Regions from separate parts of the Homo sapiens genome. Here region 2 is linked to region 1. The links are contacts of gene promoters, found by promoter capture Hi-C in human tissues and cell types (Jung and others, 2019). All regions are on one chromosome and are shown on one strand. The core of a region is centred on a gene start or on the middle of the fragment in contact, and the rest is flanking DNA. Distances in the headings are between cores, read along the strand shown.

What was found. Contacts are between HindIII fragments. The study calls those that stand out against the background at their distance.
Region 2: a fragment that was not itself captured here is called in contact with the fragment with the promoter of KLRC3 in region 1 in 1 of the 25 tissues and cell types used here (bladder).

What each region holds. Positions count from the first base shown.
Region 1 is chr12:10,417,534-10,424,800 of GRCh38, reverse strand. It overlaps KLRC3 (killer cell lectin like receptor C3), which reads left to right and starts at 4,206. Exons shown (of 7, transcript NM_002261.3): 1 at 4,206-4,437; 2 at 4,837-4,935; 3 at 5,713-5,757; 4 at 6,303-6,457. The coding sequence starts at 4,251. The HindIII fragment of the contact is 7,239 bases long and covers 251-7,267 here.
Region 2 is chr12:10,247,361-10,254,627 of GRCh38, reverse strand. It overlaps a transcript of KLRD1 not described here. Among named protein-coding and RNA genes, the nearest start is that of GABARAPL1-AS1, 36 kb to the right of the region's middle. The HindIII fragment of the contact is 5,787 bases long and covers 155-5,941 here.

The sequences.
Region 1 (7,267 bases), core at 2,957-5,456:
TGTACCCTAGTGTACAGTGTATAAATCCTACAGTAGTGTGCTGTAATATCCTAGGCCTTGACTTTCACTTGCTACTTACTCACTGACTCACCCAGGGAAAATTCCATTTCTGCAGTCTTCATTCGTAGTAAGTGCCCTATAAAAGGATGCCATTTTAACCTTTTTTTAAACCATATTTTACTGTTTTTTTGGTTTATATATAATTAGATAAACAAAAATTACCATTCTGGTCACTGCTTGCATTATTCACAACAGTAACATATTGTACAGGTTTGTATCCTTGGAGCAATAGCCTATCCCATATAACACAGGAGTGTAGTAGCTGTACCATCTAGGTTTGTGTAAATAAACTCTTTGATGTTGACACAGGGATGAAATTGCCTAAAGACATATTCCTCAGAGGTATCCCTGTCATTATGCAAACAATAATGGTATAACACTAATGGAAAACACCAAGTGGATGTTTGTAGCAATAGTAGACATCAGCACTTCAGACTTAAATAGAAAACATCAGTGAATGATACATTATGTGGCATCTTTAGTGAATGATTTTATTGTTTTAGTTCCATAACGTGACTAATAGAAAAAGTAACCTAGTTTATGAAAATGTAATAAAATGTAAATATAAATATACTTGTAATAGAAAAAGATACAATATGAACACAAGCATATATGCATATGACATTATTAATTAATTTTGTGAAAATATATTACAATATATTTTACAGAAAAACATATATACCTAGCCACCATTAGCCATTCTGATGGAAGGGCAAATAATAATTCTCATTGCAAAGAAATAAATATGGGTTTAAATTCCAACTTTTTAGATTTTAGAGAATAGCCGGGCACAGTGGCTCACGCCTGTAATCCCAGCACATTGGAAGGCCGAGGCAGACGGATAACGAGGTCAGGAGATCAAGACCATCCTGGCTAACACGGTGAAACCTCGTCTCTACTAAAAATACAAAAAAAATTAGCTGGGCCTGGTGGCACACGCCTGTAATCCCAGCTACTCAGGAGGCTGAGGCAGGAGAATCGCTTGAGCCCAGGAGGCAGAGGTTGCAGTGAGCCGAGATGGCACCACTGCACTCCAGCCTGGGCAATAGAATTATGCATAAACATTCCCCCTTTTCTTGATAGAAAATAAATGATGAAAAGATTTTTATTTAATACAACTAGATAATTTATAGTTTTTTCCCTGATGTTCGTATACCATTTATTTTTTAAAAGTTTTTGTTTATTTGTTTTTGAGACAAGGTCTGGCTCTGTTGCCCAGGCTACAGTGCAGTGACACTAACAGTTCACTGCAGCCTTGACCCCCAGGGCTCAAGCGATCCTCTCACCTCAGCCTCCAGAGCAGATGGGACTACAAGCAAACACCAGCATCCTCGGCTAATTCATATATATATATATATATATATATATTTTTTTTTTTTTTTTTTTTTTTTTTAAGAGATGGGGTTTCATCCTGTGTATCATGCTAACCTCAAACTCCTGAGCTCAAGTGATCCTGGAGTGCTGGGATTACTGACATGAGCTACCATGCCCGGACATTCATGTATCATTTTACTTGTGTTTTAAAAAATCTCCATTTTCTGGCCTCCCCATTTTTAAGTAGGTGATGTTTTAAAAATTGCTTTAACCTCCCTTCATAGTTTAACTTAGGCTTTAGTCATTTACAACAAATATTTCTATTAAAATGCAGACAGTAAGTCATGATTAGAGAAGGAACCGGTGAACAATATAGTAGGTAGTTTTTTTATTATTTCAGTCTCTGGCATAGAGATATAGCTCAGTATTGTTTAATATTTTATTCTTTCAAGAGACATTTATTTTAATCAGGAATCTGGTTAACTTATATAAAGAAGAAAAATTGAATGAGGGAATTTTAAGAACTAAGGCAAAGAAAGCAAGAAGATAAGTTTGAGAATGCATGTCAGTTACAATTAAGTTGAAAATGCAGCATTTTCTCAAAATAGTGACAAGTACATTAAATTCCTATTGATAAAATCATTATTTAAATTTTGTTATTATGATAGCAGTGATATTATAGGGGTATATGATAAAAAAGTATATAATGTCAAGTTTCAGCCACCTTGTCTAAATGTAGAAAGCAACCACCTAAGATCCTTTTGAAAAGTTACAAAACTTTGGTGTTTGTGACTGAGATGGAAACAATCACCAGCATGGATCAAATCTCTGCTCTCCCCTCATCTTGTTGACCATAAAAATAATTTCTAAGAGGCACTTTAAAATGGACAAACTAAATGACACACTAGCCACCCAAAGTCTCCTATATTCTAAAGTGTGTGATGAGACAAACTGATTCAAAATAGCCCTAGGGTGAGAATTTCCTGTTCAAATCTGCAGTGACACATTGGTGAGGAATCTACTTTTTCCACTCTTGCCTCACTCTGACCCTTCAAAGGGCAGTCTGTGAAGATCACAGATAACGTTTGTGTCTTTCAGAGGTAACCTGACCTCTCCACTGAAGGGCGTGTGGCTTTCTGATGACAGTAGGTAAGTGTTGCTCCTCTCCCTGTTTCTCTACTAGCTCATCTCATTTAGTAGAAGATTGTAAGTACTGGCTGTGATGCACCTGAGGTAAAGTTGATATAGACGAAAATCAAGGTAGAACTTTATTCACGTGAATAATTCAAGGTGAAAAACGAGCCAAAATATAAACTATGTTTAAGGATTTCTTAGAGTATTCACATCATTGCCGCTGGAGAATCACTCAAGTAGATGCATACATAATAATAGGTTTGCCAATCCATGTAATTTAGAGTGAAACCCATAACCATCATGACAATGAACAATTAATTTTGGATTTTGTAATCATTACTGGTTTAATTGTATATTATATTTAGACCAAACTTTAAAAATAAATTTTTAATATGGATACATCAAATTGTGAATGTCAAACATTAATTCTCAATCACACACCTAGATTTCATGAAAGCAGTTTTAATTTTTAATAAAAGTAAGGATGAAATCATTTCCATAAAATGCAAATCTGACCTTAATTATAAACAATTGGAAGACTTAAAACAATTGAACCAAACATTGCAAAAAAGATGTACCACACTGACATGAGACGCCTAATTAATGAGTTATTTTAACACACTCTAATGCAAATCAGAAATAATAAAATGGCAATTGTGTTAAAAATAGTTGAAATATCTATTATGTATTCAGTGCTAATATGTGCCAGGTTGTGTGTTTAGTTTTCTACATACATTATACTTTATAAATTATTTTTCCCAATGTAGATTAGTAAACTAGGTTAGTAGACACTAAGTAATTTAGTACAGGTCACATATTACAACTTGCAAAGCTAGAATTAATTGTAGTCTCACTGACTACAGAGCTCATTGACTAGATTATTAAATTACATTATCTGAACTATTACAATTACTTATACAACCAAAGCGACCCTCACTGACTTATACAATCATAGGAGCTTTCTGAAAGTTTGATTGGACACTATTCTTCCATAGACGGCCCACACGTTTATTTATCATTTTAAGTTTTCCTATTTTAGTCATTAAATCAATTACCAATTTCTTGTGTAAAAGCAGCAATTTAAAAATATATTATGTTTTCAATAGTATTTATGCATACAGTAATGTAATGTTTTACAAGATATATTTTTAAAATTTTAATGATTTTTCTGATTTCCTAATTTAGAAAAATAATCAGTTGACAATACCTCAGGTCCTTTTAATAAATGAATGTAACTCACTAACAATGTATGTTAGTATAAGAAGTTACTCTGTATGCTGACAGAACTATTTTATCTTATGGCACACAATCATTAACCATCAATGACTCTTAAAACTATGGTAAAATTAGTGTATTTCTAAATACAGTATTTTAATTGTTAAAGTATGCAGTCTATTGGTGTTAAACATTTTTGAAGAATCTAACCTTAATTTAATACCAATTTTTTTCATGAACTTCCTAGTTCTCACAAGTTTAATGTTTTTATTGTTCCCACTAGTAATATTATGTCAAATACAGAATACATCTAAAAAATGGCCAATTATATCGTGTGATTTTTGTTTAAAGCTTTAGGAAATTAGTAGCAGAATTTTACCTAGGTTAACAGCAAAGTAAACATTATTACTCAGCCCCAACACATGCACATTGCCTATACCAGGGATCCTGTCAAAATATACACCATTTATAGCTTCTTAAGTGCAGTTATCATAGAGCACAGTCCCTCACATCACACAGCTGCAGAGATGAGTAAACAAAGAGGAACCTTCTCAGAAGTGAGTCTGGCCCAGGACCCAAAGTGGCAGCAAAGGAAACCTAAAGGCAATAAAAGCTCCATTTCAGGAACCGAACAGGAAATATTCCAAGTAGAATTAAACCTTCAAAATGCTTCTCTGAATCATCAAGGGATTGATAAAATATATGACTGCCAAGGTAAAACATTAAATATATCTTCAATGTTATTGTTCTGGGATGTGCAGTTGAATGCAGAAGGGTGAGGAAAGATTAGGGAATATTTTACACTTGTGAGAATCAGAGTTCATAAATGGGATCTAATATTCTAATATGAAATCAGAAGACTAATTTTATTCAGGCATTGTTCAACTGTAATCAACTGTAATCTGCAATCCACTCATGGAACATTACATTTACTGAAAATGAAATGGTATATTCTGAGAGAAAGATTACTAGAGTAGATGTAGATTTAGCGGCCAGAGTTTATCATTATGTTTCCCTGTGCATGTGGGTTCTCTAGTATGTAATTCTCTAGTATGTAATCCTAATCAACTCTCTATCTCCCCTCTCTCAGTGCCTCTATTTCTCTCCCTGCAGGTTTACTGCCACCTCCAGAAAAGCTCACTGCCGAGGTCCTAGGAATCATTTGCATTGTCCTGATGGCCACTGTGTTAAAAACAATAGTTCTTATTCCTTGTAAGCATATTCTTGAAAGATTAGAAGGGAACGTTTTACTTTAATGCTTGGAAGTGCCTCAAAATATTTCATACTGTTGAAGAATAGAACTCTTATTTTACTGTTTCTTTCAAAGATCTATTACTTCATTTATTTTTATAGAAAAAGTTAATTTTATTAAAGATTGTCCCCATTTTAAATAACACACAAAGTTTCAAAGTAAGAAACTAAACTCATTATGGTTTATCTAAATATTACTTTTTATAAAAATCATTTTAATTTTTCTATTACAGTCCTGGAGCAGAACAATTCTTCCCCAAATACAAGAACCCAGAAAAGTACATTTTTATTTTCAAAGTTCTGATATTAGTACAATTTGGAACCAAAATAATATGGTTATTCTGAATTTTTCACAACATAAATAACAAAATCATTGTAGAGAACATGTGTTTATTTTTTGTGTGTAATCTATATATATGTATATACATACACACACAAAGATATTTTCTGATTTCATAATTCAAAGGCATGCTATAGAAGAAAAGTATTTAGAAAAACTAATTTTTGAAAGTGGTTACATCAAATACTACAAGAGATGGTGAAGTTTTGTGCTAAAGTCTTTAAAAATGTTTATTTCAAAGGTCTATTACTTTATATATTTTTATAGAAAAAGTTAATTTTATTAAAGATTCTCCCCATTTTAAATAACACACAAAGTTTCAAAGTAAGAAACTAAACTCATTATGGTTTATCTAGATATCAGTTTTTATAAAAATCATTTTAATTTTTCTATTACAGTCCTGGAGCAGAACAATTCTTCCCCGAATGCAAGAACCCAGAAAGGTACATTTTTATTTTCAATGCTCTGATATTAGTACAATTTATATTTTGTGTCTGTTTTAAGGCATGTAAAAGAATAGTGGCATTTTTGCAGAAAATAAGCCATAAATTCAGCCATAAATATTTATAAAGAAAGATTATGAGGCAGCATTTCCTTTTCTCCAGTAAGTAGAAATACTCACTTAAAATCATTCTACCCTCTTTCTCCCAATTAACAGAAGTCTCCTACTGCTGTGAGATGATACCAAATAAATAATTTTACTATTCTAAAAAAGCAGTTGTGTATCAGTGAGGTTCAAGACATGTGTGGAGTGTATTTTTGTTTGTTGGTTTGCTTTATATGGGAACACAATTAGGGGAGAGAGGCTAACCCTTTTCTGTGTATGTGTGTATGACTGACTCAGTTATTAAAAAATATATACTTATAAGCCTGTAAGGATGCATAAATATGTTAAGCACATATATGTTTATACTGTTGCAAATATGTGAACTAATTTTCATTTTTAAAAATTCATATTGGTCTAGATAGTAATTCATATCTTTATTAGCACGTCATTGTGGCCATTGTCCTGAGGAGTGGATTACATATTCCAACAGTTGTTATTACATTGGTAAGGAAAGAAGAACTTGGGAAGAGAGTTTGCAGGCCTGTGCTTCAAAGAACTCTTCTAGTCTGCTTTGTATAGATAATGAAGAAGAAATGGTAAGATGTAAATGTTTCAAACATTTTATGAAAAGCTTCTTTCAGTGAATAATACATTTGTAGAAAACATCCATATGTGTGTACATATATTTAGCTTATATATTTTCAAGTGTATGCATTATTCAGTTGATTGACTTAATAATGTTTTTAAAGTTATATACCGCTAATGTACTTTTATTTTCAGTTTTTGCTTTTTATGGAAAACCATGCTTCTATTAATGCTTTGAATCCACAATAAATTTTACTATTTAATTTTATTGAGCATGATATGATCTAGTCATGCAGATTGATCACAAAGTGAATGATCTCATGTGATACAAGTGAGATCATGAAATAAGTTTCCAGCTCTAGCAGTTCCACCCCTGTGTATGCCCTCATCACTTATCCTGACTCCTCTCCAAAACACTGTCTTGACTTTTGAAGTTATAAATAAGGTTTGCCTGTTCTTGAATTTATAAAAAACGGAATTATACAGTGTGAATTTCATGTCTGTCTTTTTCACTCCTATCTGATATTTGTGGAATTCCTCCATATTATTGCGGTTATCTGTAGTTTGTTACTGTTCACTGCTGTACTATGTACAAAGAACACTAAGAATTCATTCTGTCTTATGTCTCTAGATGGGGAAGTGAGTCTCATGCCCTCAGGGGCAAAGAGGACCCTGGATGGTGCATTGGTAGTCGTGGGTCCCTTTCCTGATCCTCCTCACCCACAACCACCCTGGTGTCTCCTGGTATGAGAAGGAAGCACTTTCTCTAGCTCCGTATTGGTGGCAGGTCTCCTGGTAGATCATCCTTGCCAGTGGCACCA
Region 2 (7,267 bases), core at 1,799-4,298, 170 kb after region 1:
TGTGAGCCACCACGCCCAGCCTTTTGCCTACTTTTTAATGGGGTTGTTTGTTTTTCTCTGGTAGATTTGTTTAAGTTCCTTCGAGATGCTGGATATACATTAGTCCTTTGTCAGGTGCATAGTTTGCAAATATTTTCTCCCAGTCTGTACATTGTCTGTTTACTCTGTTGATAGGTTTTTTTTTTTTTTTTTTTTTGAGACGGAGTGTGGCTCTGTCGCCCAGCCTGGAGTGCAGTGGCGCGATCTCGGCTCACTGCAAGCAAGCTCCGCCTCCCGGGTTCACGCCATTCACCTGCCTCAGCCTCCAGAGTAGCTGGGACTACAGGCGCCCTCCACCGCGCCCTGCTAATTTTTTGTATTTTTAGTAGAGACGGGGTTTCACCACGTTACCCAGAATGGTCTCGAGCTCCTGACCTCGTGATCCACCCGTCTCGGCCTCCCAAAGTGCTGGGATTACAGGCGTGAGCCACCATGCCCTGCCCTCTGTGGATAGTTTCTTTTGCTGTCCAGAAGCTCTTAAGTTTCATTAGATCCCACTTGTCAATTTTTGCTTTTGTTGCGATTGCTTTTGGTGTCTTTGTCACGAAATCTTTGCCCATTCCTGTCTGTGTCCAAGATGGTATTGCCTAGGTTGTTTTCCAGCGTTTTTATAGTTTTAGACAGAACTACCATTCAATTCAACAATCCCATTACTGGGTATATACCCAGAAGAATATAAATCCTTCTACCACGAAGACACATGCATGTGAATGATAACTGCAGCACTTGTCGCAATAGCAAAGACTTGAATTCAACCTAAGTGCCCATCAATCACAGATTGAATAAAGAAAATGTGGTACATATACACCATGGAATACTGTGCAGCCATGAAAAAAGAATGAAATCCTGCCTTTTACAGGAACATGGATGGAGCTGGGGGCTACTATCCTTAGCAAACTAATGAAGAAACAAAACTAAACACCTCATGATCTCATTTATAAGTGGGAGCTAAATGATAAGAACTTATGAACACAGAAAAGGAAATCACAGACACCATGGTCTACTCAAGGGGATAGGGTGAGAGAAGGGAGAGGAGCAGAAAAGGTATCTATTGGGTACTGGGTATAATGCCTGAGTGATGAAATAATCTGTACAACAAACCCCCATGACACATGTTTACCCATGTAACAAACCTTCACAGGTAGCCCCAAACCTAAAATAAAAGTTAGAAAAAAAAGACACTGTGAAAGAAAAGATGCCCGAATCCGAAGACATTGCAATGAAAACTAAACAAAATGAAACACATTAAAGAGCATTTAAAAAGTGTATGAACGGAGTATCAGTGACCTGCGGGACAGCTGCAAGGGGCCCAACGTACGCCTAAAAGCAGTCTCTGGATACATAGGAGGGGGCAAAAAGTATTCAAAGAACTTACAGTTGAAAACTGAGATTTAAATACTGAAATTGAAATGTTTCCAAATTGCTAGAACTATAAGCATATAGATCTAGAAAGTCCACGAACCCCAAGCAAAAGAAACATAAGAAAATCTACTTACATGTACATTATAATTAAGTTCTTCAAAACTAGTGATAAAAAAATATTAAAAGCATTAGATAAGAAATGTTTTATGCAGAGGATTGTCAAACTTTGTTTATTAAAAGTTAAATTATTCATCTTTTTTTTTTTTTTTTTTACAACTGCCCACTGACTCACTCAGGACAGCAAAGCCAGTAATGCTATGTTCAATCAAGCATTCTAGGCCCAAGTCACAACTCACACCACTGCACTCCCAACCCTGGTTCATTCCCTTTTGTGTACACACAGCTGCGATAGTTTTACTCCCTACCACCCCCACCATTCTTCTTCAGTGTCATGTCTTGGTTCACTTGAATCACCTTCCTCTGAAAGTTATTCCTCTTTCTCAAAGATGAAGTCTTCATGTTCATATACATTCTCAAGACACATCCTCTCATGGAATCTACTGTCTTCCCTGTAATGGTCATTCATTTAGTGCCCTTGCTTGTTTAAGACAACTAATGATTCTATACAATCATGAATTCAAATCTTAAGTAACATGAGGGAAGAAGAACTAACTTCTTATAACTTGAGAATGTGGTGGGGTTTGTTTGTTTGTTTGTTTTTTGGAGACAAGTTCTCATTTTGTTGCTCAGGCTGGAGTACAGTAGCGCAATCACAGCTCACTGCAGCCTCAACCTCCAAGGCTTGAGTGATTCTTCCACCTCAGCTTCCCAAGCAGCTGGGACTACAGGTGCACATCGCCACGCCCAGCTAAGTTTTGTATTATTTATAGAAAATACGTAATACACCTGCACATCACCACACACAGCTAATTTTTGTATTATTTATAGAACATACATTTATAGAACATAAATATGTTGCTGAAGCTGGTCTCAAAATCCTGAGTTCAAGGGATTCACCTACATCAGCCTCCCAAAGTGCTGGGATTATAGGTGTAAACCACCATACCTGGCCTAGTGTCTTTTCAATGACAAAAACAAGAGTAAGATTATCCACTTCAATAAGCAAAAAGCAGTAATTTAATTTGATGTGATTTTTAAGAAAATCTTTGTTTCCTCTGAGGAACTGGTATGTTGTCTCTCCAGAATTCAGGAGAAATGTGTAATTGACCAGACCAGAGGTCCCCAAGCCCCAGGCCACAGACCGGTACTGTGGCCTGTTAGGAACCTGGAGCACAGCAGGAGGTGAACAGGGAATGAGTGAGCAAAGCTTCACCTATATTTACAACCACTCCCCATTGCTGGCATTACCACCAGAGCTCTGCTTCCTGTCAGGTCCGCAGAGGCATTTGATTCTCATAGGAGCACAAACCCTGTTGTGAACTGCACATGCGAGGGATCTAGGTTGTGTGCTTCTTATGAGAATCCAATACCTGATGATCTGTCACTGTCTCCCGTCACCCCCAGATGGGACTATCTAGTTGCACAAAAATAAGCTCAGGGCTCCCACTGATTCTACATTACGGTGAGTTGTAGAATTATTTCATTATATATTACAATGTAATAATAATAGAAATAAAGTGCACAATAAATGTAACGCACTTGAACCATCCCAAACCATCCCCCTCTTGCTCCCATCCATAGAAAAATTATCTTTCATGAAACCGGTCCCTGGGGCCAAAAAGTTTGGGGACCACTGGACCAGACCATTCCTTTTTGTGTTTGCCAAAGAAATAGCATAAAAGGGCTGGGCATGGTGGCTCATACCTGTAATCCCAGCACTTTAGGAGGCTAAGACCGGAGGATTACCTGAGGTCAGGAGTTTGAGACCAGCCTGGACAACATGGTGAAGCCCTATCTCTACTAAAAATACAAAAACTAGCCCGGCTTGGTGGTGCTTGCCTGTAATCGCAGCTACTCGGGAGGCCAAGGCAGGAGAATTGCTTGAACCTGGGAGGCGGAGGTTGCAGTAAGCCAGGATCGCACCACTGCACTCCAGCCTGGGCAACAGAGTGAGACCCCATCTCAAAAAGAAAATAGTATAATAACAAATAATCACTCACTGTCCCAAACTCCAGAGTGAAAGGTTAGTATGTTAACATCTGTAGTTAATGCTAGTGAGGCAACATATGTTAGCTCCAGTTTATGGAACTTCAGAAATCCCGATTACAAAATTATGACTACATTAAATAAGTCGTTGATAATGATGGTAAATGAACGAAACATGGCACTTGCGGCTGCTTTCAATTATCCTTTCCTTAACCAGAAAACATGCTCTTAAATACCTGAGACTTTCTCCTGGTCTGGATCTTCTCTAGCTTCACAGACCCAAGACCCTTTATATTACCTTAATACGCTATCCATTTTTAAAGTATTATGTGACTTTGAAACCACTTCGTACTGACTTGCCTCAACATATAATGGAAGTTAATAATCAAAGGGGTGTTGCAAATGTAAATTTTAAAATGTGTTTAAAAGGTAACTGATAAATTAATACCCAAGTTTTATCTAGGTCAAGCAGAAAACTTTGGGACAAATACAAAAATTAGCCTGGCATGGTGGCGGGAGCCTGTAGTCCCAGCTGCTCTGGAGGCTGAGGTAGGAGAATCAGTTGAACCCAGGAGGCAGAGGTTGCAGTGAGCGGGAGATTTTGCCACTGCACTCCAGCCTGGGCAACAGAGTGAGACCCCGTCTCAAAAAAAGAAAAGAAAAGAAAAGAAAAGTTTGGAACAATGTGACACAGAAGCAGATGTTCTTAACCTTCTCTTTGTCTAGCTACAGAACCCAAACCAAGGGGAAGGATCTTTAACAGGAATAATACATGTTACTGAAAGGGCTCTGGCGCCTTTGGGTATGCTAAAATGTTTGGGGCCAAATGACTCAGGGGAACTTTTTTCTTTGCTCATCCTTTCTTGGTTTCCAGCACTCATAACAGCCCCCCTAAAAAAAAAAAAAAAAAAAAAAAAAAGCAAAACGTTATCACCACCTTGGGAAATGGTAAGGACTTAAGAGAGAGAGTGGTTGAGGGGATGTAAATGTTTCCTTCTAGGTTGACAGCCTAACGCACCAGGATAGAAATAAAGGCAGAGACTCAGGACAGAAGTTGAATTCCTAGGAAATCTGAGCATGACGGACAACGTATGTACAACAAGTGATCCTAATGGTCTTCGAGAAAACAAAAGGACTACTATACTCCTCACTTTGTTAGAGTTGAAAACCATAAAGCTAGAGTGATGGCAGCTCCTGCGAACTCTGATGAAACCACAAAGGAAGTCATTGGGTCAAGAAATGCATTACGAGCCACCATGGGACACTACCACCCTTCTGCTTAGCAGAGCTCAGAGTAAGGGTCCCTTCCTGTGTGAAAGGCACTGACTGCTACAGCCTCCAGGAGTCCTTCTCACTGCATATGTGTGATAAATGTGAGATTCATTATTTTGTTCTTTGTAGAAAATTAAGTATGAAATAATTTCTTACTCTTTTTTCAAGTTGTTTCAAGGATGCTTCTCAATAAATTCTTTTTTAAAAAATTGACGATTTCCCCAAGAGTTTCTCCACTGGTTGCAAACCGTATATTTAATTTTCTTGGAAGCATTTTGATATATGATAAGGGCACAAGTTTGATACCAGAGAAGGCAAGATATTAGTTTGAGTTGTGTCACTTACTATATTTATAACTTTGGTCCAGTTGAATTCCCTAATCTACTTTTTCCACATCTGTAAAATGAAGGGGATAAAAGTATCCTCATCACAAGGTTTTTCTAGGGATTGAATGAGAAAGCATTGTTAACTGTTGTTATTGTTTCTTCTGTCTTCTTTGTTTGCAATTCAATACTGTTTCTCCTTTGGTGCAGTTTTACTATTTCTCTTTCTTTCATGAAATACCTTATGTATAAAATCCTCATAATGTGGCAGAATCAAGGACTGCCTCAGTAGTTTACTGTAAGGGATGTTAGCAACTCCCCTGTCCCCTGTTAAGCCTAATTTAGAATCTCCCCCACCGGTTGGCTGATGCCAATGACTCCATGTTTGGAAATACATTTACTTTGTTTATGGGTAGAATAATAGAGGACACATTATCCGTCGTATATAGTTTATTGTATGTGAGTTTAAACCTGATATAATTATAGATGCAAATGGAATTCAAAATTGATATTTTCAAGTGTGAACATGTTAAAATCTCCATTGTAACAGAATGGTAATGATGTTCTATCTAAGCATATGATTCAAAGAAAACAAAAAGTGCAATCATCAAGCGGAAAGTATACTTATGGCCAGGCATGGTGGCTCACGCCTGTAATCCCAACACATTGGGAGGCCGAGGTGGGTGGATCACCTGAGGTCAGGAGTTCAAGACCAGCCTAGACAACATGGTGAAACCCCATCTCTACTAAAAATACAAAAAGTAGCCGGGTGTGGTGGCGGGCACCTGTAATCCCAGCTACTTGGGAGGCTGAGGCAGGAGAATCACTTGAACCCAGGAGGCGGAGGTTGCAGTGAGCCGAGATCACGCCATTGCACTCCAGCCTGGGCAACAGAGAGAGACTCTGAAAAAAAAAAAAGAAAGAAAAGAAGAAAAGAAGGGAAGGAAGGAAGGAAGGAAGGAAGGAAGGAAGGAAGGAAGGAAGGAAGGAAGGAAAAGAAAATACATTTAAATAAAACTGATTTCACACAATAAAATAAACATAAAAATAAAATATTAAGAAGTTTATTAGTGTCAATAAAGCAGACAAAACATACTTATCATTACCATAATTGTTTTCAACACAATATTGTTTTCTGTGCCATAAAGAACAATAGTCATGTACCATTTTTTTAAAAAGAGTGCCCCTCTAATGTCTCCAAGATTTTCTTTGTAGCTTCTGATGCTCATTATTTAGAGTTTTTTGATGGTGATTTCTTGATCTGTAAAAGTCTCATAGATTTTTTTTTAAAACAGGATTAGAAAAATTGTGGGGAAAAAAACAGGATCAGAGAATTTCCATTCCATCCTATGACGGTGTCTAAATGATGTGATGAGTAAAACATGCAGGACCAACAATGTACATAACTTCACTGAAGCAGTGACACTAGCACCAGTGAAAATCAAGGTCACGCATGTGCACATTGCAACTGTCTCCTGGCCAGCAGTGACTGTAAGACTTCATATATTTTGAGAGGCATGCTAATTTCAGAGACATTAAAATGTAAAAAACAATATGTATTAGTCCGTACTCATGCTGCTATAGGGACATACTCGAGACTGGGTAATTTGTAAAGGAAAGAGGTTTAATTGACTCACAGCTCTGCATGGCTGCAGAGGTCTCAATCGTGGCAGAAGGGGAAGCAAATACGTCCCTCTTCACTGGGTGGCCGGGACAGAGAAATGCCAAGTAAAGGGAGAAAAGCCCCTTATAAAACCATCAGATGTTATGAGAACTCACTCACTATCATGAGAATAGCATGGGTGCAACTGCTCCCATGATTTAATTACCTTCCCACTTGGTCCCTCCCATGACATGTGGGGATTAGGGGAACTTCAATTCAAGATGAGATTTGGTTTGGGACAGAGCCAAACTATACCACAATGTATCTTAGACTCACTAAATTAGATTAAAGAAAATAAAATATGAAAGTGAAGCAAACTCTATTATAAAAATGAATAAGTCTTAAAAAACACACAAAACACTGCATCAAGCCTAAGATGGAAAGGTATTAAATTTTCTAAAAATGTTATACAAAAATTAGTACATCTACTTACACAAAAAGTGTAAGCATATAAAATTTAACACATCTACTTGGATAAGATGTTTGAAAAAAATAAATTATA